Regions from separate parts of the Homo sapiens genome. Here all the other regions are linked to region 1. The links are contacts of gene promoters, found by promoter capture Hi-C in blood cells and fetal thymus (Javierre and others, 2016). All regions are on one chromosome and are shown on one strand. Each heading gives the region's core, a stretch centred on a gene start or on the middle of the fragment in contact. The rest is flanking DNA. Distances are from core to core; before and after follow the strand shown.

The links. Contacts are between HindIII fragments. The CHiCAGO score rates a contact against its expected background, and 5 or more counts as called.
Region 2: a contact is called between a fragment that was not itself captured here and the fragment with the promoter of RCSD1 in region 1, in 1 of 17 cell types (neutrophils). The highest score is 5.6, in neutrophils.
Region 3: a contact is called between a fragment that was not itself captured here and the fragment with the promoter of RCSD1 in region 1, in 1 of 17 cell types (neutrophils). The highest score is 5.4, in neutrophils.
Region 4: a fragment that was not itself captured here is called in contact with the fragment with the promoter of RCSD1 in region 1 in 1 of 17 cell types (total B cells); the score reaches 5.0 in total B cells.

Annotation. Positions count from the first base shown.
Region 1 is chr1:167,626,743-167,634,388 of GRCh38, reverse strand. It overlaps RCSD1 (RCSD domain containing 1), which reads right to left and starts at 4,157. Exons shown (of 7, transcript NM_052862.4): 1 at 3,960-4,157. The coding sequence starts at 3,965. RefSeq lists enhancers at 3,371-3,440, 5,959-6,008, 6,019-6,188, 6,269-6,328 and silencers at 3,981-4,200, 4,221-4,300. The HindIII fragment of the contact is 3,174 bases long and covers 2,561-5,734 here.
Region 2 is chr1:167,236,170-167,243,815 of GRCh38, reverse strand. All of the region lies in intron 1 of POU2F1 (POU class 2 homeobox 1), which reads right to left. LOC124900412 (a long non-coding RNA gene) reads right to left here and starts at 2,199. Exons shown (of 2, transcript XR_007066718.1): 1 at 1-2,199. The HindIII fragment of the contact is 7,155 bases long and covers 1-6,248 here.
Region 3 is chr1:167,258,350-167,265,995 of GRCh38, reverse strand. The region is part of intron 1 of POU2F1 (POU class 2 homeobox 1); the gene reads right to left. It overlaps LOC124900412 (a long non-coding RNA gene), which reads right to left. Exons shown (of 2, transcript XR_007066718.1): 2 at 1-7,646. Among named protein-coding and RNA genes, the nearest start is that of POU2F1, 41 kb to the right of the region's middle. RefSeq lists an enhancer at 1,618-1,707. The HindIII fragment of the contact is 879 bases long and covers 2,857-3,735 here.
Region 4 is chr1:167,324,544-167,332,189 of GRCh38, reverse strand. All of the region lies in intron 1 of POU2F1 (POU class 2 homeobox 1), which reads right to left. Among named protein-coding and RNA genes, the nearest start is that of POU2F1, 110 kb to the right of the region's middle. RefSeq lists an enhancer at 2,381-4,473. The HindIII fragment of the contact is 409 bases long and covers 2,855-3,263 here.

The sequences.
Region 1 (7,646 bases), core at 2,908-5,407:
AAAAAAAAACCCTGATCTTCCTTCCCTCTTCAATATTTGCTCATGCAACAAGCCTTTCTTGGTGCCCATTAGGCTCTAAATATATAAGACATGGCCCCTGCCCTCAAGGAGCCTTCCGGGGTGACAGTTAGGGAGGCTGACAGTTCCAGTTCTGCCTAGTGTTCTAATAGTGGCTTGAACAAAGTGCTCTGAGAGTGCTGTAGAGTCTGGGGGCTTCACAGAAGCCTTCCAGAGGTGGAGACGTTTGAGCTACAGACCGAGAGGGGAAGGAGTTCCCTATTTATGCTAATCATTTATCAAGCAAACTTTTATTGAGAAATTATATGACTATATGCCAGGCACCGTGCTCATTCTGGAGACTCAAAGACCAATGAGAAAATCTGCCTGCAAAAGGCTTTGTATGGAGCTGTAAAAGTTGGTACTGCCATTTTCCCTGGCACCATAGAGAACTTCACTCTTCTGGGCAGCTTGGTGATTTCTGACTTCCCTTCCAGCGCATGGTCTTTACTCTTTTCCATCTTCTCCATTCTTATTGTATCCTGAAGTCAGAATATACCTGTACTGGAAAAGATGCTTTCTCACCTGGTTCCCTTGCTCACTCCATGAAGTGGCATTTTTGCTGTATCATCCCGGCTACATCACTGCTGCCAGCTGCCTCAACACCTCTCAGAGTTTCCTACTGTCCATGGAGCAGAATCCAGGGCCATACAACTCTGGCCTTCAAGAGTTGCAGATGGCCTCTGCATGAATTAGAAAAAGCCACCCGTTTGAGGCTCAACTAGGCAAGGAGATTTTGTATGAACAAAAAGTAACCTTTTCCTCCAAGTGACTTGGATTTCAGCTCCCACTCACCCACTTAGCTGGGCATCTACTATACTCAGTGACCTTGGATTTATCTTATTACTTTCATTTTTTTCTGTTACTGCTTTCCTACCTTCCTTCCCAGCCAGCTGGACAAAGCTGGCATGTTCTCCCTGTGCCCATCCCTTATACCTTCTCCACCTTACCCACATCTTTCTTCCAAGGCTTCTTCTGAACCTAATCTAGTCTGAACTCCTGCAGAACTCATGATCTGCAGCAGTATTCAACTGGCATTTATGCATTTGAAGATTATATATGTGACAGGATATAGTCCCTTTATTGGGTTGTGAGCTTTTAAAAGGCAGGGATCAGATGGCATCTATACTTTGTTTATTCCACAGGGCTTTATGAGGGATGAAGATTGATGTTGTTGATAATGGTAACAGTGACTTTAAAAAAAGATCTCTCAAAGACTTCCAATAATACGTGAGCTTTAGAGAATGAATATTGAGTAACCCTCTTTGGTCTGGTTTGGATTCCTAGTACTGAGAAGTAATATAACTTAATTTCTTTCCAGATACAGTAGCCCTTTCATGTCCCAAAACTGAGTTTCACCTCTCAAAAGAGGGTTTTACTCTGAGATTTTCAGAAACCCCCAAATCCAACTCCTGCATATCATGCTTCACCATGAAAAGTTTACTTCCTGGCTAAGAATGGTCACTTCCCTGGCCCCTAGATTTCCTCTTTACTTTCTTCACTAGCAGTTGCATGTTGTTTTTTTGTTTGTTTGTTTCATTTTTGTTGTTTTTTGTTTTCCAGGCATTTGGACAAAGAAACTTCAAAAGCAGCCACTGTCCAACCAGCAAATTGATGGACTAGGCTTAGTGACCTACTGGATGTGAGACGCAGGGTGATTTGTCAGGCTTCTGGCTGGCTGAGCTATTCCCTCCCTGCGTCCCTCCCAAACCCTAGCACGGGAGTGATTTTGGTATCTTGGTGGAATCCTGCATAAGTTACTACACATCTCAATAAGGGAGGGCCTTCTCTTTTACTGCAATCCCCTCCACCCCCCAAGCCACACAGGAAGTTGCTCAGCTGATAGTTTCAGGGCCTCTGCCATACACTATTCCTTCCTCATCTGAGGGGGGAGAAACTGCCTCTGTGGAAGGAGACCCTCCTTGTTTTCCTAGAACAAAGTTGACACTTGCATTTGGCCCTCCAGCAGCAACCTGCTTGAAGTCTAAGAGTTGCTTTTCTCTTATCTCCAATCCTTTTCTTCAAGAGGTTAGACAGGCCATACATCATAGTGAATCTGCAGCCTGGGGCCTAAGGCAGTTTGTACACTTCCAGAAGAGGGAAGCCACTTCTAAAACAATTTCTTAAGGAGACTTCACCCAACCCAAGAAGCTGGGTGTTGCCTGGGCCATTTCCCTCCTCTGCCCTGAAGCAGTGGCCAGCTCAGAGAGAACCCTGTTGTTTTGTGTTTGTGTGATCTTTGGGTGGATGTGTGCACACCACCTGCTGAGCTTCGCTGTGTGCGTGCCTCACCGCCAGCCCTAATCTGCCAGAGCTTCCTGGCCTTGCAAATGTTTCTGTGGAGGGTCCATATTAGACTCCAGTGGTTCTTGCAGTCTATAAAGTCTCCTTGAAGGTGATTCCCTGTTCCTTGAAGACAACTGGCTGGGCTGGATGCCTGAATATAGCTCCCTGACTTCTCTAAAGGACAAACTTATTGCCCCTTTAGAGAAGTCATGAAGCTTTGCCGGCAAGCACAGAGTCTAGCTTAGAAAACACAACCAGGGCCAGGAGTGGTGTGGCTCATGCCTGCAAATCCAGCACTTTGGGAGGCCAAGGCTTAGAGGATCACTTGAGCCCAGGAGTTCAAGACCAGCATGGGTAATATAGTGAGAACTTGTCTCTACAAAAAATTTTAAAACTAGCCAGGCATGGTGGTACACACTGGTAGTCCCAGCCACTTGGGAGGCTGAGGTGGGAGGATCCTTTGAGCCTGGGAGGCAGAGGTTGCAGTGAGCTGAGATTGTGCCACTGCACTCCAGCCTGGGTAACAGAATGAGACCCTGTCTCAAAAGAAAAAAATAAAAAGACCACCAGGGCCCAGGCACAGAGCCTGGAGCGGGGAAGAGATAGCGGAGTTAACTGTGAATCCTGATTGCACTGACCACAGTCTAGTGAGCAACACATGTTTCCTTTTGAATATGAGTGGGAATCACCTTTAAAACTATATAACATTTGCATCTTCTCAAAAGCCCCAGGTCCTACTAAGATTGACTTAGGGCTACATATCAGGTCTCATTTTCAAGGAGGAAACACAGGGAAGCCTCAAGATGTGCAGAAGAGAGGGATGTGGGGAATACACCCAACCACTCCTCTGCTGAGGTTGGAACAGAACAAGGAAAGTCCCCGGACCTCCTCTCAGCAGGCAGAGAAGTGCGGGGCCTCCCTCTGGCAAAGCCTGCAGATGTGGCCAGCATACCTCCATACACACAGCTTCAGAGGCAAGGGTGTCCAAGGGAGTCTTAAGTTTTATCAGAAATAATGTCATTCGACTGACCAGTAAGGGGAGCTTTCAGAAAGTTATGGAAGAAGATGCGACAGACACAGGAAGGACTTCAGAAGCAAGAAGACAACTGGACTCTCTAAAATGCCACTCCGAAAGCGAAAAGGGAAGCCCACAGACCCACGAAGACGTGCTGGCCTCGTGTTGCCAGTTCTGTTTCTCTTTCAATACCCATCTCTTCAGATTGAAGGGCTTCTGCCTTCTTGCAGTTTTTGCTGACACGTTTACCCATTTACAAACCTTGGCTGCACCTAACTTTTTTTTTTTTTTTTTTTTTTTTTTTTTTTTAGCATTTAAGTTCCTAGCCAAAATACCCGGGCCTCTAGGAAAGCCCTTTTCTCTCCCTCTGAGATCTTTCCTTACCAACCCCAGCCTCCCAACCCGGGTGTCCTAGGTGGGACCAGGGACGATCCTTCGGAGTTGGTCAAGGAGGCGTCGGAACAGCAGGCATTTGCCCTTCTAGTTGGCAGCAGCGATGAGCCGCGTGCTCCATGCTCAGGGCAGGGGCAGCCGCCCGGGGAAGGGGCGCCCGATACACCGCTCACCGCTCAGCCCCGCGTCTCCCTCCGGGGTCCTTTACCTCCATGTCCTTCAGGTGCCGACTCTGCGGCAGACGCACCCGCTCGCCCGGGCCGGAGCTCACGATCCCCGCTGTCCCCTCCGCTCCCGGCCGTGGCCAGTTTCGGGCTGCGGCGGGCACAGGGCGAGTGGGCGGTGGCGCGCGCCCGGCTGCGCTCGGCTGCGGGACTGCCCCGGCCGCGGGGGCCCTGCGCGAGAGAACGAGGAAGGAGGAGGAGGGAGGGAGGGAGGAAGGGGAGGGGAGGGGAGGGTGGGGAGCGGGGAGGGAGGCCGACGATCAGGGTTTAAATTTAGACGCAAATCTAAACAGATACTGTCCCTCCCAGGGCAGGACTCAAGAGCGGGAGCCACGACTCCATGTGCCCAAACATGGGGATGGGCAGCCACCGGGCCCCTCTGTCTCGCGAAGTTTCTCAGGACCCTGGGCTTTGCCACGGTCTCAGTCCTTCTCAACGTCTCCCTCCCTTAATGCGCCTTCTTTCTTTTTCCTGTCCCTTCAAGAATTAGAGTGGTCCTTTAATTCTTTTTGTTTCCTCTCTTTTCGATTTCCTTCTTTTGTGTCCATCCTTCCTGCTTTCCTTCTTCCTCTCCCTCTTTTTAAAATTGCATTACTGTCATACCTGGTTTCCCTGCAGTTCTTGGGTGGAGTTCGAGGACCCTCCCTGGTGGAAGGCGTTTGTGTTCTACCAAAAGAGGAGCCCTTCTGACCGAGGCTTCAGAGCTCAGCGTGGCGCCGACGGGACCACCTTTCCCTTCTCACCTCTTTTCCTCTCCACCTTCCAGGAAACCACTATCTATCCATCTATCCATCTATCTTCTGTATACGAGTAGAAGGAGGAGGAGGAGGAGGAAAATCAGGAATCCACGCAAAGTTTTCCAAGCTCCCTGAAGTGGTAAATCTTTTCTTCAAACCTTGCTTTGACTGATGCATTCGGTTTTGTGGGAATTTTGGCTCCCACAAGCTGCTTGCTAAAGGGCCTCGTCTCCATTCCTGTTAAATATAGCAAAGGGCAAGATGCTCAACATCTGATTCCCATAGGGCCCAGCATAGCAACCTTCCTTTAGGGCCATCCCGGCTGGGCAGCAGAGACCGCATGGGAGGGATTCGGGGACTGGAATCTGCACCAGGGTCACTCCCTGCTACCCGGATCCCGGCCCCCTTCAGACCCTTCGGCAGAGAGAAACAGGAAAATGCCTTGAGAGACCTGTGAGTGCCAGGGTATTGGCTGGGTATATGACGCCTCTGGGTTATCCCACAGCATTCTCACCCGCCCAACCCCAGCTCAACCAGGGGAGGGGAGCCCCATCAGAGGTGGGCAATGGGACAGGTGATGGTGAGCACTGTGAAGAGACATGTGGAGAAACAGTAGAGAAAAAAGGCTGAGAGTCTGCTCCTGCTACAAAGACTACCCTGATTCTGGTTATCCCGGCACCATCTTTGCACTTTCAGGCACTTAGATTGCTGCTTTGGGTACCAGTCTTAGAAATATGGCCTCCTTCCTGTCCTAGAACTTTCTAAGGCCCAACTTTCTAAAACACTGGCAGCCCTAATGCCAGAGTGGCTTCTAGTTCTTTAGCTTAGCTAAGCATAGAGGAAGACGCCTGGTTTTAGGAACAGACAGATTGAGGGCTGAATTCCAGCTCTGCTACTTTCTAGTTGTATTTTTTAGACAAGTCACTTAACTGCTCTGATTCTCATTTTCCTCACCTATACAATGTAGTAGGCACTCTGCAAAAAGTGGCTGTTTTTATCATGCTTAGCCCCATGTACAAGCTTCAGATGAATAAGAGCCTGATATTTCTTTTATTTAGAGACAGGCACTCGGGGACCCAGTGAAAAGAGCCCTCACTCCCAGGAATTAATAGTGAGGCCCCTCCCAGTCCAGCCACATGGCTGCTCAGGTGAAGACTCGAGAGCAGAGTCGGCAGTAAGGAAGGGTATTTACTGGTAACCTGCAAGGCACACTTTTGCTCGTGCTTCTTTCCTTTCTTTTTAAAGGTGCAGGACGTAGTGATGACTGCATAGTCTACTATCAGGTCTTCTAACTCTGCTCCACAGGGCCTTTTCCTTTCTCCCTCTACCTAGTCCTCCTTTGTGCTCAGAATGGGGCTGCCCCAGCACAGGTTTCTGGCTTCACAAACAGGAGGGCGGAAGTGCTTACCCAGAGGAAACCGTTAGGCCTAGATAACATCAGTCACCCAAGGTGACTTGCAGCTGCTCCCCACGCCCTGCTTAGGCCTCTCTTGGCTGAGAACAGATGACCACAAAGCAAACAAGCTTGGCCTCCACCATGCTCCTGGGTCCCCAGTGCAGAGTTTAATGCTGCTCCAGAGCTATTTGGGCCCCAGACTGGGACTTCTCCTGAGGGAGGGGGTGGAAAACGGGGAGGGAGGGACCAAGAGGTAGCCCCGAGCTGTGTTTAGGCAGCCATGAGTAGGTGTGGTGTGTGTACTCCCCTTATCTTCTTCTTCTGTCCCTACAGAAGATCTCCAGGAGCCAGAATAGCAGTAACTCTGCTGATAAACACCCAGGTTTGCTGGGTTATCTGGGATTGTAACTGGCTGCTCTGGGGGCTGGGAGGAAACAACAGCCCAAGGGGAAGGGAAAGTGACTTTCCGAGGAGTTGGTTCCCCTCTCTCTCTGGAGGTCTGGCTGGCTAACACGGAACCACTTCCTTCAGTCTACCCTGGGCCTTCCCCTTCATATATCCTGATAGCCAGAACCAGCCACGCAATAAGTAGAGGTCATCAGGTAACTAACAATAAAAACACCAGGCTGGGCTCATGCCTGTAATCCCAGAACTTTGGGAGGTGAGGCAGGTGGATCACAAGGTCAGGAGTTAGGGACCAGCCTGGCCAACATAGTGAAACCCCATCTCTACTAAAAAAATACAAAAATTAGCTGGGCATGGTGGCGTGTGCCTGTAATCTCAGCTACGCGGGAGGCTGAGGCAGAAGAATTGCTTGAACCTGGGGGGCAGAGGTTGCAGTGAGCCAAATTCTTGCCACTGCACTCCAGCCTGGGTGACAGAGCCAAGACTCCGACAAAAAAAAAAAAAAAGGCCAGGTGCAGTAGCTCACGCCTATAATCCCAGCACTTTGGGAGGCCGAGGCAGGCGGATCACGAGGTCAGGAGTTTGAGACCAGCCTGGCCAACATGGCAAAACCCCGTCTCTACTAAAAATACAAAAATTAGCTGGGCGTGGTGGCATGTGCCTGTAATCCCAGCTACTTAGGAGGCTCAGGCAAGTGAATTGCTTGAACCCACAAGGCAGAGGTTGCAGTGAGCCGAGATCGTGCAGCTGCACTCCAGCCTGGGCAACAGAGTGAGACTCCATCTAAAAAAAAAAAAAAAAACAAAAAATAAAAAAACAAGAACACCAGAGATACAGCTCAGCCAAGGGAGGGGCGTATGGGGAGGTATGGGGAGGAGCCAGGCATATAGAAGGCCCTCAATAAATATTTAGTGAATGAGGCCAGGTGGTAGCTCACACCTGTAATCCCAGTGCTTTGGGAGGTGGAGGATGGTTTGAGCCCAGGAGTTCAAGGCTGCAGTGAGCACTCTATCCTTGGCAACAGAACAAGACCTTGTCTCTAAAAAAATAAAGTAAAATAAAAATAATTTGGCGAATATGTGCGTGAATGAATGAACAAGTGAAGCAAATTAGGATCTTTCCCTTTAAGTCAG
Region 2 (7,646 bases), core at 1,422-3,921, 390 kb after region 1:
AGGCTGTCAATCCTGAAACTTAATTCAAGAAAAGAGTTTAGGCCGGGTGTGATGGCTCAAGCCTGTAATCCCAGCACTTTGGGAGGCCGAGGCGGGTGGATCATCTGGGGTTGGGAGTTCGAGACCAGCCTAGCCAACATGGCAAAACCCCATCTCTAATAAAAATACAAAAATTAGCCAGGCATGGTGGCGCAAGCCTGTAATCCCAGCTACTCGGGAGGCTGAGGCAGAAGAATCTCTTGAACCTGGGAGGCAGAGGTTGCAGTGAGCCAAGATCACGCCACTGCACTCCAGACTGGGCGACAAGAGCGAGACTCCGTCTCAAAAAAAAATAAAAATTAAAAAAATAAATTTATACCTGTTCATACTTACTTTTTCACTTTGAGAGTTCCAAGTCATTAAAAGGTTTGAAGATAATAAGAAATAGTTTACATAAATCGACAGATTCCAACGTGCTCAGCAATTATATACATTATCTCACTTAATCCTAAACACAGCTACATGAGGAAGGGCTTTTACAGTTAACTTCTCAGAGCCTAGATTTTCTTAAGTGCCTAAAACAATGCCTAATACAATAAGCACTGAAATATTTGTTGAAGGAATCAAGCTACTGGTCAGTTATTGAAACATTAACCGGTCAGATTCCTAGGCCAGTATTCTTAATTACCATGCAATAACGTCCCAAGTAAAAATATAAAACAGAGATATGAGTAGAAAGAGATGAGCATATAGTTAAGTAGCGGCACTGAAGAACAGTAGATTCTGTCTCAATTAGTAGACACTTGCTGAAAATTCAACTGAGTTAATAAAGGTAGAATTCATTTTGGGAAACAAAGGAAATAAGAAAGAAAGCGGGGGAGAGAGGCAGGTGGAAGGAGGGGGAGGGAGAGAGGGAGAATGAGAATATACGTATGTCTGTATACATTGTGTATGATTAATAGTTTTCTGAATTTTGCCCATACATATACAGATACAGCATTTATCCTACGCAAAAGGAGACATTATAAACACATCACTGTATCTGAAGTATCATTTTCATAGCAAGGCAGTAAGTTACAAACTCTGGAAGGTTCTTCATTTCTTGTTACTTTGCTAGTAAAAACAACATCTCACAATATGGAAAGTTTCACCCATATAAACAGGTTAAGCTGTGACTCCTGATTCGGGCTAATTTCACATAAAAGGTAAATAGGTAAAATTATGCCATGGAAGAAAGCATACATTTGCTTCTCTCAACTATCTTAGGGCAAAATCTTGTCAATTCTATAGCTAGATCATCCTGTGAGATGTGCTCAAACACTTAGTGCTTCAATGCGTCACCATGGTAAGAAAGCTGGTCTTAGAGTCTTTCTGTGATTTGGGTTTCTTACACCATGTTTTTCAAGTACCAGCTTTTATAGCTTTGCAGAATCATCAAGGGCAACAGGTCCTTCTATGTGTCTATAACAGGAAACACATTTTCCAAAGGTATACACTTCTTCTTGGTTCTCTTCTATCACTGCTCATAGTGCTGAAATTCTCGTGCATGGCATTTATTTTTTGACTGTCACTAAACAGGCCGAACAACTCAAAATTGCGGCTTTGAAACTCTGAAAACCAAAAGTATTAATATTGGTGCTTCTTAGTTAAACCATAATTAATGTTCACAATTACTTAATAAAAGTGTAAATGAACAAGCAGCACTTGGATGCTTCATCATCTTTAAAAATATTTTAGCACCTAACAGGTAACTTAGGTCCAAAATCCTGATAAAAGCAATTGGCAATAACAAAGCATTTCTACCATAAATATCTTCCTTAACCAAGGCATTTTTTTAGGCACTTAAGAAAACTTAGGCTCTGAGAACTCTAAAAATCCTTCCTCACATAGCTGCGTTTGTGATTAAATTAGACAATGTATCCTTCCTTTAGTCAACTAAAGTTAGCATGAAAACTGGAATCAAAACCCTCAAATTATTTTTAACACTACCACTTTCCAGTTATGTTAACTTTTTGAAATTACCTAACTTCGTTGTACCTCAGTTTTCTACACCTATAAAACACATAACAATGATGCCTACATAAGTGTTGACATGAAGATTAAACGAGACAATTCATGTAAAACATTAGAACAGTGCTTAGCATACCAAATGGGCTTCATAGGTGTTAATTAATATGCCTAATATTATAAACAAGCAAGTACAGTAATAAAAATAAACTGGAAAACCTGTTATTTTATATTGCCCAGAACCATTCCATCTTAAGCTAATACAAGTGAAGGTGTATGCTCATTAATCCTTCATCACATCCAACAAATCGTGCTGTCAACTTCTTTATCCACTGAAAAATTGCTTTCAAATTCTCGAAACAGCATCACTTCATCAGCTGAAGTAACATTTTGCTGGCATCACTGTTTACAGCCCAGTAGTAGCTAGAATCATAAAAGGTTCCTGATTAATTCCTTCCTTTTAAAACGAAATATTTAGTTATTTCACCCGGCACTAAAAAACAGATTCTACAGACCTCTTTGAGTCATGCCCTTATGAAGACAAATAGATTATGACAGAAGACATCATTCTGCTAAGGTTATTGCTTTACACTGGCAAATCAAAGGGAGATGTGTAAAATAGGAGAGGAGAGTTATCTCCTGGGTGAGAACTTTTTCAGACTATTTATTTATTTATTTATTTATTTTTAGATGGCGTTTCACTCTTGTTGCCCAGGCTGGAGTGCAATGGTGCGATCTTGGCTCACGGCAACCTCCGCCTCCCGGGTTCAAGTGATTCTCCCGCCTCAGCCTCCCGAGTAGCTGGGATTACAGGCACGCACCACCACATCAGGCTAATTTTGTATTTTTAGCAGAGACGGGGTCTCTCCATGTTGGTCAGGCTAGTCTCGAACTCCCAACCTCAGGTAATCCGCCCACCTAGGCCTCCCAATGTGCTGGGATTACAGGCATGAGCCACCGCGCCCGGCCTTTTCAGATAATTTCATTACAGAACAAGGTGTCCCCAAAGCAAAGGTTTCAGAAGCTGGGTTCTGAATGGATTTCCACATAGAAATAACGTTGGCAAACCTCTAGGGAAGGGCTTCAAACCAACTGTAAAAGGTGAACTTCATTGGGACACCAAAGGCATATATTAAATATGTTTATGCAGAAGCACAAGAAAAAGTGAATTAAAACAATAGTAGATTTTCAGTTATCTAGGAAACACTTATCTTGGAAGAAACTAACAGTTTCCACACAAACTTAGGCTAAGTATAAGCTCATAATCATTTATCTGTTGTCCTGTGTGTTAAATCAGGAACAGCAGGAATCCCTTCTCTATTTATTTCATTATTTTAAATATTTTTTCCACCTTTAAAGTAGTAAAATTACCCACGAGTATATAAAATACGCTTCCTCAATTACCTCTAAAACAATGGCCAGTATTCAACTCTTACTCTTTTTTCTAATATTTTAATTTCTTCACTGCCCTACCAAAGCATACATTTTGTAATTCTTCATCCTTTTGTTTTATATCGGACTTAAAGAAGGTTCTGTCTTTACAGCAGAGGCTTCTAGTCAGGGTTCATATCTTCACAGCCCTTATTCTACATGAATTGACTATTCATACACTTCGACTACTGGGGTATTTGTTATGTACTACTAATGTCTAAGAGAACTTGATATAGTAAGAAAAATTATCCCTCTATGTTCCATACAGGCTAATACTTTTCTACCATATATTATGTTAATTTTATTTGTAGAGTCTTTCAGAAGGCAGAACCATAAATATTTTATATAGTTAAATCTATCCATCTTTTCCTTTTATGGCATTTGAGTTGTGTGTCATGTCAAAAAAGCCTTTCCATAAAGTCCTATTCATAGCTTAAAGAAAAAAAAAAAAGCCTTTCCATCCCCAAAACTAAATAAAAATTATTTGTATTTTTGTCTTAGTATTTTTCTGAGTTTTTCTTTGAACAGTCTAATCTTTAATCTCTCCACCATTCTTTTTTGTGTACGGTGTAAAGTATAACCCTGACGACATACATTTTTTGTGTTTTTCAAATGGATGGCCGGCCAACTGTCCCAACACCATCTGGCCCTTCTACCTAAAAAATCAATTTCAATCATTCCAAGCACCTAAACTCTAGCTTAATGCTGAGAGGAAACTTTCATGTCTGTATTAAGGTGATCACTTTTTAAGTATATTGTTCTTCAAGGGGCTATGTATTCTGCTTTTAGCATTCCCAGCACTTGCTAGAATGAGCATAAAAGTGAGGGTTGGGGTGGGAGTATCAAATTTGACTACAATGTCAAAATACAACCATTAAGCCACTAAAGCAGTTTACAATGTGTATGTATACCTGTGGTACGAATTAAAATTACCCCTTGAACTGCTGCCCATGGACAGCACTTTTACATATGTTCTTTTACTCTTGTAAAGCAGTGGCATCTATACCAGATAAGCACTGTATTTATTATAACTAGGAGTTAACTATGTCTTGATAGCATGGCAAAAAAGATATGGGGAGTGAAGATTCACAGATATTCGAAATTTAAACTATATCTCCTTATTTAAAAATACTTTTAAAGTAGACTATTTAATCTAGTGTTCTTTTTCTGTCAGTTGACAAATGGTATGTCACAAAAAGAACACTACGTATGTCAGAAAAAGAACACTAGGTTAAATGACTGAATGACTGAAACTGACATTTTTGGTAGAAGGGATAGGTAGTGTTAGGACAGTTGGCTGTCCATTTGGGGGGGAAAAAAAGTTTGTCAGGGTTACACCTTACACCATACACAAAAAAGAATGGTGGAGAAAAGATTAAAGGTTAAAGATTTTTAGAGTGTGTGCCTGGATTCAGAATAGGAAAGGGGAGCCTAGAGAACAAAACTTTTCAGGATGTGCCCTGCACTGTTTAGGGCAAAGTACACTCTAGCCACCCATCTGAGTAGCCAACTAGTCTCCCTGAACAACATGAAAATCTTATCACTCTACCTTCAATGATGTGCACCAACAAATGTAATTTCAAACCCAATGCAACCCAGTATTTACTCTGAAAACATTTCTTGATAACCTACCCTATGCCAGTAACCTTGTACTAACTGTGAACAAAACAGGTATTTATGGAAGATTGCCTAAAGAATATGCAGTATCTCCATTCTTCTAATTATTCCAAAATCTTTTCCCTTTTTAAGTCAGACCATTTTGAATAGTCCTCACTCAATATCCTCATCTCCCACCAATTAACTGCCTTAATGAAGGTGCTCTGGTATGATGCATTTGGCCTATACAGGGGCATTCTGAAATTTGTTGGTGTGTCCACAGTAGGAAGACTGTTGAGGGCACTGTTTATTACATTACATAGGGTCCTGTTTATAAGGCCTCTGAAGAGAAGTTTCCTTCTGATCTTAGTACCAGGAATTGTTGTGCTTTTCTTAAAAGTTTGTTTGTTTTCAAATTTTATGGGCATAAATTGACCAAGTTTTCCTTGTTTGCATCATCTACTAAGAAGTTTACAGAGTATTTGGGCCCCACCGGAAATAAATATTAGATTTTTATATTAGGTCTTTTATATTTTTATTTTGCATTTCTTGCCATACAGTTGATAAATCTCTATAAACCAACTTGAGAGACAAAATGAAACAAATAAATAAATGGATAAAATTTACATTAATGCATCTCAAAAAAATTTTTTAATTTAAGGGATCAGAAAAAAGGTCACATGAGAAATCAAGGGCTTACTCAAGAAATTAAGAATATATGGGCTGGGCATGGTGGCTCACACCTGTAATCCCGGCACTTTGGGAGACCAAGGCGGGCAGATCACTTCAGGTCAGGAGTTAGAGACCAGCCTGGCCAACACAGTGAAACCCCATCTGTACTAAGAATACAAAAAAATTAGCCGGGTGCGGTGGCACGCACTTGTAATCCCAGCTACTCGGGAGGCTGAAGCAGGAGAATCGCTTGAACCCTGGAGGTGGAAGCTGAAGTGAGCCGAGATCACGCCACTGCACTCCTGCCTGGGCGACAGAGCAACACTCTGCCAAAAAAAAAAAAAAAAAAAAAAAAAAATATATATATATATATATATATATATACACACACACATATATGGATTTAAAAAATAAAACCAGTAACTCAATTAACTGGAGGAACAGGGGAAGAGGAATTAAGGACAAAAGGGGAAAGAAAAATTAAAGAATACCCCCAAATAATGTATTTGTAGAAATCAGACAAATGGTAGTACAAAATGACTTTGTGTAAACCTAGTCAAGCTTACCATGTAAGTCACAAAATATTTACAAACATTTCTTATTCCACAGACATCACTCAAAATGGTAAAAATAACATACCGGCAGATGAAAAAGAAAATACAAAAATTACTTGATAAAAATGGCCAAAGGGTACCGGAAAAACAACAAACAAGACCAACAGGGCTGTTACTGTAACCTGTTTCTTTTCTGAGCTCTTTCCTCATCCATCCCAAATAGTAGGACAAAAACTTATGCATGCAACAATATGAATCTATTAACTTCTCAACATTCTAAATAACCCAGCAGAAAGTCTAGGTAGGCGTTTACACTCCCCAACACGCATAAGTATGTTCTCGTTAGATAGCCTCTCTCCTTCAAGGTCACTGTCATCTTTTCTCACCACTGACAGACTTTACAATGCTGTCACTGCTGTATGTTAACCCTAGTTCACAAGTATCATCACCATCAAGCCATCTCTACTCAGAAGTTAGATACCTTCCTCCTTATTGTCAGCTTCCTTAAATTTCTTGCTCCCCAAGTCCCAGAGAACTCCAAGCTTGCTAGGAGGTTAGGTGAAATCCAGCACTGAAAATATTTCAGGATTAGTCTTATCATTTCCAAGCCCTTGTGTAGGAAATAGACCCCTAGACTGCTAAAACTCTATTATCTTTCCATTTCTCCTTTATCCCTACCTCCCATATATTTGACTTAAAAATTAAAATTGCCTTTAGAGAAAGCAGAGTAAAAAAAATATGCTCACTCCAGTTCTCTGCTAAGAGAAACATTTTTGTCCAAGAGTAGGGTATGACTCTCCAGGACCACAGTGCCACAGCTGACCCATCCCTGCCCAGACTCTGCAACCATCCCCTTTCTATAAATGAACAGCTAATAGTGGGATGCAAGTAAAGCATGTGACTAACAGGTAGACTGATCCAAGCTCCACCTGCATCCCTAAGCTACTTCTCCAAAGAGGTATAGGAATTAGCTGCGGGGAAGGAGGTGGGGCAGGCACACGTCGAAAGAGAATATTTAAGAAGTCATAAATTTTCAGGAAAACTACAAGTATTCTGAAACGGCCAAAACAGGAAAAATAAATCATTGTTGTACATTTGAAAACTAATGATAAAAGATTTTATATTTAATAAAATTTAGTAAGATTTAATTTAATAAAAATTTAATAAGAAGATGTCGGCCGGGCGCGGTGGCTCATGTCTGTAATCCCAGCACTTTGGGAGGCCAAGGCAGGTGGATCATGAGGTCAGGAGTTCAACACCTGCCTGGCCAAGATGGTGAAACTCCATCTCTACTAAAAATACAAAAATTGGCCAGGCATGGTGGCAGGCGCCTGTAATCCCAGCTCCTCAGGAGGCTGAGGCAGAGAATTGCTTGAACCTGGGAGGTGGAGGCTGCAGGGAGCCGAG
Region 3 (7,646 bases), core at 2,047-4,546, 370 kb after region 1:
TTGTATACACAACAAGTTGTAGAAGTATACAGGTCTGTGGATTTAACAGTGTAGCTGCAGGCTTAGCATTGACATAAATTGAAGCTTGAGTTTTAATACCTAAGGTAGGGTTTCTCAACCTAAGTACTACTGACATTTTGGACCAGATAATTCTTTGCAGAGAGGGGAGGAGACTGACTTTGTGCATTGCAGGATGTTTAGCAGCATAACTGGCCTCTAATCACTAGATGCCATGAGCACCATTCTTCAGGTTGTGACAATCAAAAATGTCTCCAGTCATTGCCAAATGTTGGGGGGTGGGGGAGGGTACGGCAAGAGACTGTCCCTATTTGAGAACCACAACCCTAAGAGTACTCCTCAAATGAGCTATATATATACATTTCACTACTGCATGCACTGTCTCATAAGTTTGATTTTTAAAAATATACAAATATTTTAAATACCTAAAAGAGTTATCAAATCTTCTTTAACCTTCACCACATGCTGCTGCCATTAGTGAATTTGGCAGCCATCTACATTGCTTGGTTTTAGACACAGGCTAAATCAATGACTCTGAATAACCTAATTACTAACTTAAATTACTAGCTAACAATGACATTTCATAATGGTTTAATAGAAGAAACGCTAAACTTGTGAGGCAAAAACTTAAGTTATCTTATCATTGTGAACTGTCCTGTTAATTCTATCTCTAAAATGTATCTTGAATCCCCTGCTTCTCTGCATCTTCCACAATCTTTGTCTCAGCCACCATCTCTCATCTAGACTCAGACCCTTTAAACTGTTCTCTCAGCTGCTACTCTAGACTCCACCAAGCTACTCATTCAACTAATACTTACTGAATGCCTGTTATATACAGCATTACACATCCTGAGAATAGATCAGTACAGGACTCTCTTACAAAATTCTTTATCCAGTGAAATTTACATTCTAGTATGAAAGTCAGAGAAAAATAAAGTAGGGAAGGACTGGCAGGGATGGGGTCTGGTATGGATTCACCAGTTGTATAAAGACCTGAAGGAGGTTAGGAAGTGAACTACATGGGTATCTGTGAGAAAAGCATCCTAGGCAAACGAGACAGCAAGTGTAAAGGCCCTGAGGTGGGAGCATGTCTCGGAGATTTACTCCGAGTAAAATGGGAAACCGTGGGAAGATCTGGAGCAGGAGAGACATGCTCTAACATTTTAAAGGAAAAAAACTGGTAACTGTCTAGAATAGGCTGTTGGTGTGAGTGCCTGGGCCATGATAAATTTTTTTAAAAAAATTTCTTAAGAAAAAAGATAAAAAAAGAATAGCTGTAGGGCTGGAAGGGTGGAAGCTGAGACTAGCTAATTCAAATGAGATTTATACCAGGGTGGAGACTGTGGAGATAAGAAGTGGCTGAATTTTGGATATATTATTAATCACAGTGATATTTTAAAAACACAAACTGGACTGTGTCACTCTTCAAAAGCCCTTCAATTGCCATTTTCTTTTCAATGTACTTTATATAAAATACAAAATCCAATATGGTCTAAAAGGCTCTATATGATCTGGTTCCTCCTTAACTCTCCAGGTTCATCTTACTCCTCAGTAATCAAAATATGTTCTGGCCACACTGACCTTTGAGGTCATCTAATACCCCAAATTCCTTTCCACTTGGGGGCCTTGGTGCATACTGCTCACTCTGCTTAGAATGCCCTTCTCCACTCTTTGCCCTACCTACATGCTCTCATATGTCAGTTCTCAGCTTAAAATTCATTTCCTCTTAATCACATGGGGCAGCATGAAAAAAGAAAAAAAAAAACACTTCCTTAAAGAGACCTTTCCTGACATACCACTATAAATTAGCTGTACTCCCTTTGCCCATTATCTTCTCTTAAAGTACCTCAAAGTACTTTTCCTTGATAGGACCCATCCAAGTTTGTAATTGCAACATTGGTTTACTATATATAGTGGTTAATATTTGTCTCTATAGACCATAAGGTATAAAGAGCAGAGATCACTTTTGTTTCACTTACCATCATAACCCAGGATTGGCCACAATACCTGGCACATAGCAATTACAAAAAATAACAAGTAATAGAAGAGCTTTCATCCCAGCTCTGCCACATATGACCTACTCACAGGTGTTCTCAAGATTTCAACATATCTTCCCTCCCTTTTATTCTTAAGACTCTATGAAGGTCACAAGAACTAGAGTAAATGAGACAAAGAAGTAGGAAATCACAAGGAGTCTTAAGAATAGTTTGTCTGAAACAGCCAGAGAGTAGAGTAGTAGGAGAGATGAATGAGGGAGGGCCTTGACTGTTGGGGTATGAAATCTGGACTTTATTCAGCAGCCAAATGGAGAGATACTGAAGGCTTTGAGTAGTAAAATATACCAATCGGAACTGTGTTTTTGGAAGTTTATATCTATCTGTGGTACATAACTCACTGAAGAGGCTAAATGCAAAAATCTGAATTAGAAGCCAACAGGTGAATAGGGCCTTTTTTTTTTTTGAGTCGGAGTTTCGCTCTTGTTGCCCAGGCTGGAGTGCAATGGCCCGATCTTGGCGCACTGCAACCTCTGCCTCCCGGGTTCAAGCAATTCTGTCTCAACCCCCTGAGTAGCTGGGATTACAGGCATATGCTACCACGCCCGGCTAATTTTTGCATTTTTAGTAGAAACAGGGTTTCATCATATTGGTCAGGCTGATCTCAAACTCCTGACCTCAGGTGATCCACTCGCCTCGGCCTCCCAAAGTGCTGGGATTACAGGCATGAGCCACCACACTCGGCCGACATGTTTTTTAAAATAGCTGGATATACAAAAACATATCTTTTCTTACATTTTCATTAATAAAGGTTTTTAGTGTTATTTGATAGCTACACTAAGCTTACATTTGTTTTAGTTATGTTTATAAAGAAAACAAAAAAGTGTTCCAACAATGGAAAACACTTTCATTTTCTCATTCATTACTGACAATGCAACCAGATTAATCTTCCAAAAGTATGGCTCAGATCATATTACTCAAAACACTTCAGTGGCTCCCCACTGTCTACTGAATTAAGTCCAAACACCTTAGCCTGATATTTAAGACTCTACATAAACTGGCCCCAATTTATGTACTTTTCTCTCCTATATTCTAGCCAAATTGAACTACTTTTGCTCCAAACATGGCCAGCTTTTTCTGCCTCTACCAGACCTTGCTTCACACTGTTTTTTTCTTTCTTAAATGCAACCCCACCCTCCATCCTTAACCCACCTGTCAAAATCCTACCTTCTTTATTGAGGGCCCAGCTCCCTTGTTACTGCCACTCTAAGCATCTTTCTTCAACCCACCTCAAGTACAAAATCCATCCCCAGGGGCTTTGTGACTCACCACATTCTACATTGAATGATTTTTCTTCATATGTTTGATCTCCTCAATTAAATTATAAACAACTTCTAGCTCCCTCTGTGAAACTAAGAGGGTACGTATGTACACAGAAGCAAGCAACTATATTTATAACTTAAACTGTTTAAGAACTTAGTCCCTTTGAGGGCAGATACGGTTTCTGATTCATCTTGTGTTTCCCGCAATTCGCTGAACAAAGTACACTGAATAAATTAGTGTTGAATAAAACACTCAACAATTTTAAATCAAATATAAAATTTGCCCTTATCTCTGGGGTCTCATTAGTTAAGCCACACTAAAAGAAAGAAGCACCAGACACAGTGGTGGGCACCCCTAGTCCAGCTACTTGGGAGGCTGAGGTGGGAGGATCACTTAAGCTTAGGAGCCTGAGGCTGCAATATGCCATGACTGCACCTGTGAGTAGCCATGGCACCTCAGCCTGGACAATATAGTGAGACCCCATCTCAAAAAAAGCAACATTTATTGAACACCTGCACTGTAATTAGCTGCTGTGCTAAGACTGTAGAGATGATTAAAAATAAGTATAAAACACCATCCCTGTCCCAAGAAGGTTCCTAAGGTTCTATTCTTAGGTACACGAAACATATTTTCAAAGCAATCAGAAAAATACAAAAGTGTTATCAAACATAATCAAGGCTGGGCACAGTGGCTCATGCCTGTAATCCCAGCACTTTGGGAGGCTGAGGCAGGCGGATCACTTGAAGTCAGGAGTTCCAGACTGGCCTGGGCAACATGGTGAAACCTCATCTCTACTGAAAATACAAAAATTAGCCAGGCATGATGGCACGTGCCTGTAATCCCAGCTACTCAAGAGGCTGAGGTATGAGAATCGTTTGAACCTGGGAAGCGAAGGTTACAGTGAGCCAAGCCAAGATTGTGCCACTGCACTCCAGCCTGGGCAACAGAGCAAGACTCTGTCTTAAAAAACAAAAAACAAAATCAAATCCTAAATTGAATATGAATTTCCAAAGAGCTGGTACAGATAACAAGTGCCATGGGAAATTGAGTGGAGAGATCAAAGTTGGTCATCCTCAATGCAAAATGCTTATCAGAAGCTTGGCTAGAGGGCAGGAAGAGGCAAGATTATCTAAAACAATGTGTTCCCCTAGACTGTGCCAACAGCTATATCTATCCCTATATCTTGCTCTTAAAAAGAAAAATAACCCATGCAGAGGACCACATCTCCAACCTACAACCGTTCATGCTCACTGGCCCCATTATCTTATGCAAGAATCCTCTGCTAGTGCACACATGAAAAATCCAGACATCTAAAAACACAAAAATAGTTTTCCAAAATAAAGAATCATTTTCTGCATCTTTCCTTTCATGAGTGGCAGGGGAGAGGGGCAGATCTCAAAGGTGACCATTTAAAAAAACCTAATAAAATTCTAAAAATAAACTGTAACTAGTCCTTATAGCGCTTGCTTGACTCATTTTAACAATTACCTCTTTAAACATCAGTAATCAGACAAATTTTAGATATGTTATGGTTGACTGGGAACCACTCTCCTATTCAAATGTTTCAAATCAGACAAGACATTTATAAATCAAATGAGAAATACTATAAAATAGTGGTTTAAAGTTGAGACCCTGAAGCTAGCTGGCATGGGTTCATAATCCTAGCTAAGTATTAAGTTTCCTCTGGGCTTCAGTTTACTAATTTCTAAAAGGAACAAAAAAATATAGTTAATTCATACTACTGTCATGAAGAGCTAATGCATTAAAATTTTAGTGCATTAAATGCACTAAAATTTTAAGTATACTAATCTAGCATATAGTGAGCAACCCAAAAACTGCTACCTACTCTTATCCAAAGTAATTAAGGGCACAGTTCAGTCAAGACTACTCAGGCAATAACATAGTAGTAAACAAAAAGTGCCAGCTTCAAAAGTGAAAACCGAACAACTTTCCTATACAGGAAATTAGCGTCAAAAGAAATGTAGAACATGTGTATATGTGGAAACTCTGTATGACAGAGCTTTGGCAATGCAGGAAAGCTGAGGAAAGAGGGAAAAATTCAACAAATCATGTTGAGAGAATTAGAAATCCATATACTTAAACAATTAGATCCTCATCTCATACCATACACAAAAATCAACTCCAGGTAGACTAAGGATCAAAAGGTAAAAAAGCAAACGTTAAGAAAACATACGAGAATCTGAAGATCTGGAAGAGACAGCTTTCTTTAATAACACATAAAAAGTACAAACCATAAAGGAAAAGGCTGATAAATACAATAGTATTAAAATTAAAAACTTGTTTTCATTAGGAGTCCATTAAAAAATACAAAGATGAATCACAGACTGGGAAAGATATTAGAACATACATAACCGAGCAAAAAAGAATTAGAATTTAAAAATTCCTAAAAATCAATGAAAGATGTAACGATTTTTTTAACAAGCAAAATATATTAACTGGCAATTCATAGAAGAAACACAATTAGCCGGGTGCAGTGGCTTACGCCTGTAACCCCAGCACTTTGGGAAGCTGAGGCGGGCGGATCACGAGGTCAGGAGATCGAGACCATCCTGGCTAACACAGTGAAACCCCATCTCTATCAAAAATACAAAAAATTTGCCGGGCGTGGTGGCGGGTGCCTGTAGTCCCAGCTACTCGGGAGGCTGAGGCAGGAGAATCGCGTGAACCCAGAAGGCGAAGCTTGCAGTGAGCTGAGATCGCGCCACTGCACTCCAGCCTGGGCGACAGAGCGAGACTCTGTCTCAAAAAAAAAAAAGAAACGCAATGATCAATAAGCATATGAAAAGATACTTAATATCATTAACAATAAAGAAAATACAAATTATACCCTTTATGAGATGCCATTTCATGTGCAATGAGGCTGGCAAAATTACACTATCTTGGCAAAGATGTGGTGCAATAAGAACTACACTAGTAGTAAGAATATAAATTGATATAGTCACTCTCGCAGTATCTGATAAAGCTAAAGATGTGCACACCCTACATACAATTCCACTTCTAGGCTTACATATGTACTGTACATTTTGTCCATGCACTCTATCTTACACACACAAACACACCCCCCCTTAATAAAACTCTTAACATGTACGCACAGGGAGATATATACTGGATTATTCTGAGCAGCATTGCTTATAAGTGCCAAGAACTGGAAACAGTCAAAATGTCCATCAAAAGAAAAACGACTAAATCAACTGTGGCATATTTATTCAACAAAATACCACACGGTCATGAAACTGAATTGCGGTAGATGGTTTACTAAACTGGTTGCAGTTACTCCCTTCCCTGTATCCATGCCATTTTGCAGTGTGCCTTTGCTGCTCCTCCCATCAAGAGCTGCATCCCTCAAATCTGGGATGGTCTCCCAATAGAATGCAATAAAAATGATGTTACTAGCCTAAGTCTCAAAAGGCCTTATATACTTCCACTCCCTCGTTTATAACACTGCTCAGCTGCCAGGTGAACAAGATAAGGCCAGCCTCCTTCGGGATAAAACCATGTGAAGCAGAAACAAGCTGTCTCTGCTGAAGCATCTTAGCCTACACAAACTTCGGCCAACACAGCAGCTGGTCATAGATACACGAGTAAGCCTGGTTAAGATCAGCAGAATCACCTAGCTGACCCAACAGTCACATGAGCAATAAAAACAGGGGTTAGCAAACTACAGCCTGTACGCAAAATCTGGTATGATGCCTCTTTTTATATGGTCCACAAGCCAAGAATAGTTTTTGCAGAAGAACATTTGCAAAAGTTTTGATAAGAAACACTAAACTTGGACCCCAATTAGGCAAAATGTTGTCCTCCCCAAATAATTCTATTCTTCTCATTAGTAGACCTGTATTGCAAGAGTTTTTAACTCAATTACTATTCTATTCGTTTATATTTTGAATTTTCTGAATTTAAAGTACATGGTAATTTGTTCTCTCTCTTGTTATATAAGTATCTACATAGTATCCATGATTTTGCCTCTTGGCCTACAAAGCCTGAAATATTTACTATCTGACCCTTCAAAGAAAAGATTTGCCAACCTCTGATTAACAGCTTACACAGGTCCTCCTGTGTACACATGTGTATACAGACACACACATATATCTATATAATCTCACTGACTGATAGACAAATAGACCTGGCCATTAGGTATGTGCTGGATATTATTAGTAAAGAAGAAAGCAAAACAAATTAATGCAATTATAATTTTTTTGCAATTTGTAAGTGCTATGAAGGAAATAAAGGATCAAGTTTGATAATAACTGGTTGTCAAACAATTGCTAAGGATCGCATACAGTGTGGCAC
Region 4 (7,646 bases), core at 1,810-4,309, 300 kb after region 1:
AGAAAATTAGAAAGCCTGATATGTAAAAGGAATAAATGCTTTTAACATGAAGTAAAACTGGAAAGGGGGGAAGCACCTCACATAATAAAATGTTATTCCCAAATAAAGTATCTTTTTCTATATGCAATGATATTCATTCATTATAACCAAAACAACCCACTGGTAATCTTGATAAAAGATGGGACAGTAACTCAACCTATGAACTAAAAGAAAACACGTCTAAGGTAAATTATCTCTAAATTTACTCCCCTCCCCAACCAAACTAAACAAGTCAAAGTGAGAACATATTAAATTCATACCTCAACTATAAACCAGCACAAGAAGTTGTACCGTAAGGCATAACAGATATAGCTAATAATTTCAAAACTGCATTACAACCACACCCACTTAAAGTAATACTACCTCAATATCCTAAATGAAACTGCTAATTTGAGTTTATCATTTCTGGGTTATCTACTTAATGAAGGTTTATTTCCACAGTAAAATGTTTTCATCAAGCAATATTAGGTATCCCAGAAAATACATTAAGAGAAGAGACAAGAACTCTGCTTTTCTTCTAAGTCTTTGAAAGGGTAAGAAACGGAATATACATAAATATATCTCTTATTCTACTACTGTAAACTCAAACTTAGAATATTTATGATCAAACAAGTTTACTGTCAAATAAGTTCTGCCTTTACCCACATTAACTTATTTAGTGGTTAAATAAGTTAAGAACCATTTAACTTTAGTTATTAACAGAGAACAAATATTTAAACTATACTGTTTTTGACCAAAGAGCACATTTTTTCATCTGCTTAAACATCTAACTAGAAAATCAAAACAATCACTAGACAGAATTCTCAACCATGTTCTTTACAGTCGAATTATCCCCATGCATAACAGATGAGAAAAAAAATCAGGAGTCTTTCTTTTATAAGTTTCATTTCCAACAAGAAGATGTGTAATAGCTTTTCCAATACAGTAAAAGTTTCTGTAACTGATGCTTGTCTTATGGGCTTAGGCAGTTCTGTCATAACTTTGGTTTGGTCTTCTAATGTTCAAAGGGTTAAAATTCATATGTTTGTGGTCATAAATGAGGGCAGTTCTACAACTTCCTTCTTCTCACTGTCCAGAGAAATTTAAATATCATCTGAAAGCATACTAAGGTTTGAAAGGAACAGGTGTACAACTTAGTGAAAAATCAGCTTTCTGAATGACAACCAAAATCTCATGAAAGTCAACAGAGATCACAACAAATGTAATAGAATATACCATTAGCATACATACTGCTCCATGCTTCCTTTAAATGAATTTTAAAGGAAAGTGGAAAAAATGATCAATCAGTTAACATTCATAAAAAGAGTAACAGTTTTCTCACATATGTGGGCACCGCAGAAATAAGCATAATTCTTAACAAGTCATGAGCCTGACTTTGTACAATTCATATTCTAATTTTCCCATCTATAAAGACTATGTCACAGGTATTTTAAGTGAATCATCTCAGATTCTTCTACTGAACTGTCAAGAGCTTCAAAAGCATTTAACAAAATTATCTCACATACACACAAAAATAAAACATTACTTCACATACACACAAAAATAAAATTGCACAATGGGAAGACTGTTTAAATAATACTTACTATTAACTGAAAGTAAGAGATGTAATTTCTACTTCTAAAATGATGTGTTAAAAATATTCCAAAAAGGTATTTTTCTTTCCTTTTTTTGAATTGTTAACTAAGTAAATGTCAAAGAGTAAATACAAGATTGAATTCCTGACATAAATTTGTTGTTTCTGTCATTCACTCTTTACATAGTGGCTTTTACTGTGCTGGGCAGATACTGCTACCCTGGGTTTAGGCCATGCCTTATGCATAAGAATTCAAACGTTTTCAGAAGTATCATTTTACTTTATCTTTGGCAACTATGAAGGTGACAGGAGCAGCTTTAATTTTCAAGTGCAGAAAATGACAATATAGGAAAAAAGTCATTTGCAAAAGTTTTAAATGTAAGATATCCAAGTCCCGGAGTTCATATCATTTAACTTTCCAGGTGACTAGAGTAACTAAAAAAGTCTCAATAATTCTGCATATAAACAGACATAACTCCACACAAAATATGACCACCATTAGCCACCATATATCTAAAAATCAAAGTGCCTTGATTTATTTGAAATCTTCATCACCAAAGATGGTTTTAACAAATTTAAGCTGGACATCTTCCACTCCAAAAGGCTTGCTGTTCTACAGAGAAAACTCTAAAAAGGTTTTCCAACATTTAAAGTTGTAGTTATCTAGAGTATATAGTTGATTTTAAAAAAATTAAAAAGAGGACTAATCCTAGCAAAAATTTGAAAAGTTAATAGTTTCTAAAATCTGGAAATCGATCAACAGATCTGTTGCAGCAACCAGTACAATTACCCTCTTTATTAACATTTATAAAAACTATTCTGCATTGTGACTCAACCTTATTTTTCACTGAGCATTTTGGTTTTTGTATAAGACGTTCTCATTAGGTATGAAAAACATTTTTATTAATATGTATATATTATATATGTACAGTTCTATGCCTTGTTTCAGATTTAAGATGTTTTTATAACTACATGAAATGTTCTCAATAGGAATTTCCAAAAAGCAAAAATATTCATTCGAGCTGAACTCTAAATTAACTGTATTTACTAACGATACCCTCTGAATCAGAAGAGCTAGTCACAGGGAGGGACCTACTGCAAATTCAAGTAAGCTTGTGCTTTGCAAATGCTTTCCTCCTTCCCTGCTCAGTCCAACTCTCCCCCTCCCCCGCCACAGGCTGCATATGCGATTAAGCATTTATGCATAGTCAACCCGACACACTCTATTTCCATATTAAAGCTTCTAAGAAAAGAACTGTGCTGGTACCCACCTAGAACATAGTCACTGCAGTCCAGCATTGCTGTGAAATCTTCTAGAGGAGCAGAGAGTCCAAACAAGGAAGAAACAGGTAGCAGTTTGGGGTGGGGAAAGAAGGTACTACTATTTCTAACAAATCTACAGTATGTTCTTAAGCGAAAAGAGGGGGGTTGCGTAGGGTGGAAAGTGGATTAAGGGGAAAAGCAAAATACAACTTCTGTTACACCATAGCAATCTTCAACTGAATAAGGAAACTTCAGTTGCTCAGAGGAGTTTTAGTCTCTCCTACCAGCTAGGACTGACATTGTCAAGGCAACTGAAGCATGAAAAAGTTCCTCTTTTTGTAATAAAATAGAAACAAAGATTGCAGCTGGCAGTTTCCATAATGAAGCTTAATCAGTATGCGCGTGATTAGGGCCTTATGCAAATCTCTCCTCGTTAGCACAGCAGCCAGCACTTTGAAGTCCATGAACAATTCATTTACAGAATATACTGAAAGCACTCCCTGCATAATTTAAATCGTTGCATAAATATTTATCAGGCTATTTGCATATTAATTGGCAGTGCATGAAGGGAAAAATTATCTCCTGAGTGCCAGCATAATAATTAGGAGGATAAAATGAGACTTCTTCCAATGGCCTGGCTTCTTGGACCTAACTGGAGATAGTACCAAGGGAGAAGGGAGGTACAGGAGACAGAGTTCTGTTAAAATGCCACTGAAATGACACGTACAAATTAGAAACAACCCTACAGACTTAAGCACCTTTAATCTTATTCCTGCTGGCAACAATGACTTCAGTAATAAGAGGATTTGCAAAAAGCTTTCTACACAATCCAAATAATCCCAAGGAAACAATTAGCAAGGTAGAAGCAGAACACAAGGCTGTCAAGATGGTGCTAGTCTACTGATAGGGAATTTTCCAATTCTTAACACACTTCCGTCAAGAGAAAGTCCCACTTTAAAACGAGGCAACAGTAAACCCAGAAGCAGTGCAAGGTGTATAAAGTATCTTAAAGAGTATAGAAATTCATTATCTACAAATCTTTTTATATTACCAAATTAACAGAATAGATTAGTTGAATGCTACATATTATGCAGTATCCTTCCCCCATGAAAATAAATCTCAAGTAGAAAGAAGACAGTTTGTTACTTAGAATCTCTATTGTCAAAGGGTGGGCCATGTAAATTGTGGAATTACTTGGTATTCTCAAGTATATTTCACTTAATGAACATACATACATATATATAATCCTTACTAAACTATATGTTTATTCAATTTAAAGTATATTTACAAGGTAAGTCATCAACCCAAAATTTTTTAGGCATTACAATGACAACAGCCTAATCATCACAGACAATTCAGGAGATTTATAAAATCTCCATGGAGTAATAAGCATTATTACCCCTTTCTTTCCTTATATATTATTAAAGTAAGGAAACTGAGGCACAGAGAACTAAAACACTTTATCCAATGTCACACTAGTAATTCGGAATCAGGATTTAAAACTAGAATTTTCTGATATCAGAATCTGTGCTCTTGGCTATTCCTATGCATTATGGATGAGTTAAACACGTAGGGAATTGCTGAGAGGTGGTAAAGCAGCAGACTGAATGGTTTGTTTTCCGTGTAGTGAAGAAACCAGTAAACGGCAGCAAAGACATTGTGTTTAAAAGTCAGGTGTGTACAGATACACAGAAGAGTGCACTAGATTTGAGGAGAGTTCTGAAAGGTGTCAGCCCATTAATAACTGTTTTTATTTAGAACTAGTCTTCAGGAAATGAAAGACAGATTTTAACAAGGGGCCTTTAAAAAGATTCCCTTGCAAGTCAGTAGAGGACCAAAAACCTTAAACTTTTGGATCAGCACTCTGCATTACCAGTTTTTCTGTTTTACTGAATCACAAAATGCTTATGAGGAGAGACTTTGGGGGAGAAACTTAACACAGCCATTTAATACCTGTAATACCTGTTTAAGTTCCTTCCTTCTTCGAGCCTTAATTTTATCACCTATAAAATGATGATATCCCTTTCATGAGGTTATTGTGAGATAAATGCTTTCATGCTTCTCAGACAAGAGCGTGGACTGGAGGAATGTGATGCAGTTGTGCCAGGGCAGACATCAAGTCACTGGATAAACATGTCCATCTTTTGAAAGCATCAATCTTATTTAATATTTCACACCACTTTGTATTAAAATAAGAATACATTATAGAAGAGAACACAAATTTCAAATGAGTTTTTAAGGTAGAATATGTTGGATTATACAAATTCTCCTTGGTGAGAAAAGATGAAAAGCAATGATGAATGTGACTAGATTACAGTAGATATCAATAAATGTTTATTTCCCTCCTCTTCCGCCTTTACGAAATTTAAAATTTATTATTTGCATTTATTATGGGATATTTCTGCAACTTACCATCTGCCCTTTTCTACTTTATGTAATAACATCTCTAAACTACCTTTCTACTGTGAGTGTGGTCTTTCATATATTAGCTAAGGATGACTTGCAGCCAGACAATCATTGCTAACAAAGGAGTGTGTCTGTACCCAACAGGAGCAGCACCTTCCTAGTGAAAGAGCCTCCTCCTCAGGCTAAGGGAGTCCCACAAGACCTGTAGCAGGGAGGCTATAGTTTACCAGCCCACACAGGCTACTATCTAGAGTGGGACCCCCCGCTTCCCCTCTACTGCAAAGCTCACCCAGAAAAAAAAGCTCACATTGCTACAGTGGGAAGGAAAGGCAAGAAAAGTCCCTTTCTACCACCCTTGACCTAGGTACCCTACTAATTTTAGAGGGGAAGTTTAAATACCAGGAGTTTGTCCAAGCCTCTACAGATGGATTGGGAGAGGGACTGTCACCGTCTCTTGCCTGTACTCCCCAACCATGGCACATTTATGTCCAAAAGAAGAAAATGACAGCTTTTCCCACAAAGTTCAAATGTCCATTTCACTTGGTCATCTGTCTGAAATAATAGCAAAGAATCAATTAGACTAAAACTTAACCTAGAAAGAACACCCGTTGTACAAAGGAAAATCATTTTTGAGAGGTTTGTGGGATTGTCAGTCATTCACACTTGAGCATGAATTAATCCAATCCCACTGCTTTCATTTAACACCTAGTTGAGGAGTTGATTGTAAGGCAATGGTTGTTTCTACTAGAGAAGAGGCCAATAAATGATAAAATAACTGATGTTTAGAGGACCTGGATTGGGGGTGGGGTAATGTGGGCAAAGGGTTCATAGAAGGTAGTAATAATAGGAAATAGTAGTAACATATGGAAGTATAAAAAGGAGCTGAAAGGGCAAATTCAAACTCATGTATTTCACAATTACGCCTAAAATGTAGCCTTTTTTTATTTTCTAAAAGAGGGGACAAACGCTCTTCCAGGACCCAGAATTCACGGTTAACACTACTAGTTTTTTTTTTTTTTTTGAGATGGAGTTTGCTCTTTTGCCCATGCTGGAGTGCAGTGGCACAATCTCAGCTTGCTACAACCTCTGCCTTCTAGTTTCAAGCGATTCTCCTGCCTCAGCCTCCCAAGTAGCTGGGATTACAGGCGCCTGCCACCAAGTCAGGCTAATTTTTGTATTTTTAGTAGAGACGGGTTTCACCATGTTGGCCAGGCTGGTCTCGAACTCCTGACCTCGTGATTCGCCCACCTTGGCCTCCCAAAGTGCTGGGATTACAGGCATGAGCCACCATGCCCAGCCGACACTACTAGTATTAAAATATTTTTATATTCATGATCTTATGGGCCAGTGTAGGTATCATTAGAAATGAAATTGAGGGCAATGACAACTAAATCACAAACTAGTGTTTTAAAACACACCTTTTATGTGAGAGTGAACTGAGATCGGCCTATATTCTACCTTACTAAATCATTAACATCCAGCCTGGTCATGTTCTATATGAATAGCCATTTGTACCCTCTATTCTGTACTGACCATATAACTAGTTGAACAAGCAGAAATGTCTGACTCAACAATTATTGCCTGTTACCTCCTTTCTATATCATGGGGGGTGTCTGCATCTTTTAGCACCACTGGTTTCACCCCAGCCAATCTCAACAGTACACCAATATCCTTTCCAACCTTCATCTCTTTTCCAATCTACCAATAATTTAGTGTCCTATTAACTTACTTACAGAAAACACTTAATGATATTTCAATTCTCTGTAATAAAAATACTTAGTACCTCAAGCATTATCAATAATTATTTACAAAAAAAGTCCAACAAACCCATCACACACATACAAACTAAAATAATTTTACTAATGCCCACCAAATATGAAACAACATTCCAGGACTTGAAAATTTGAGACTCAGAATCAAGTGATAGGTATTGGCACTGCCACCATTCTTGTCAACTACATCACAGACTATGTAAATGATACCCTCTAAGGTTGCATTATGGGGCTCTCAGTGTCCCCTCCCCCCACCAAAAATCTTTTAGAATAACTTAACGGAATGTCTATCATTTACTAAAAATCTAGATGGGCAGATACCATGAAAGACATGTACTTTATCAACGTGGCTATTAAGCACTGCCAAATAACAAGCAATCTGAAGGATAATCTTACTTCATAAAAAGTAAACTGAGGCCTAGTTAATGACCCTTAGGGTCACATAGCTACTAAACAGAGAGCCGAGGTATGGTGGGGGTTGGGGACTCAGGCACAATATGGAGGGCATGAGAGGAAGACAAGTAAAATAAAATATGTAAAAATTCTTATCCCATGAGACTGAGATCAGTAGTTGGTTGGCTGAACAAAATGGT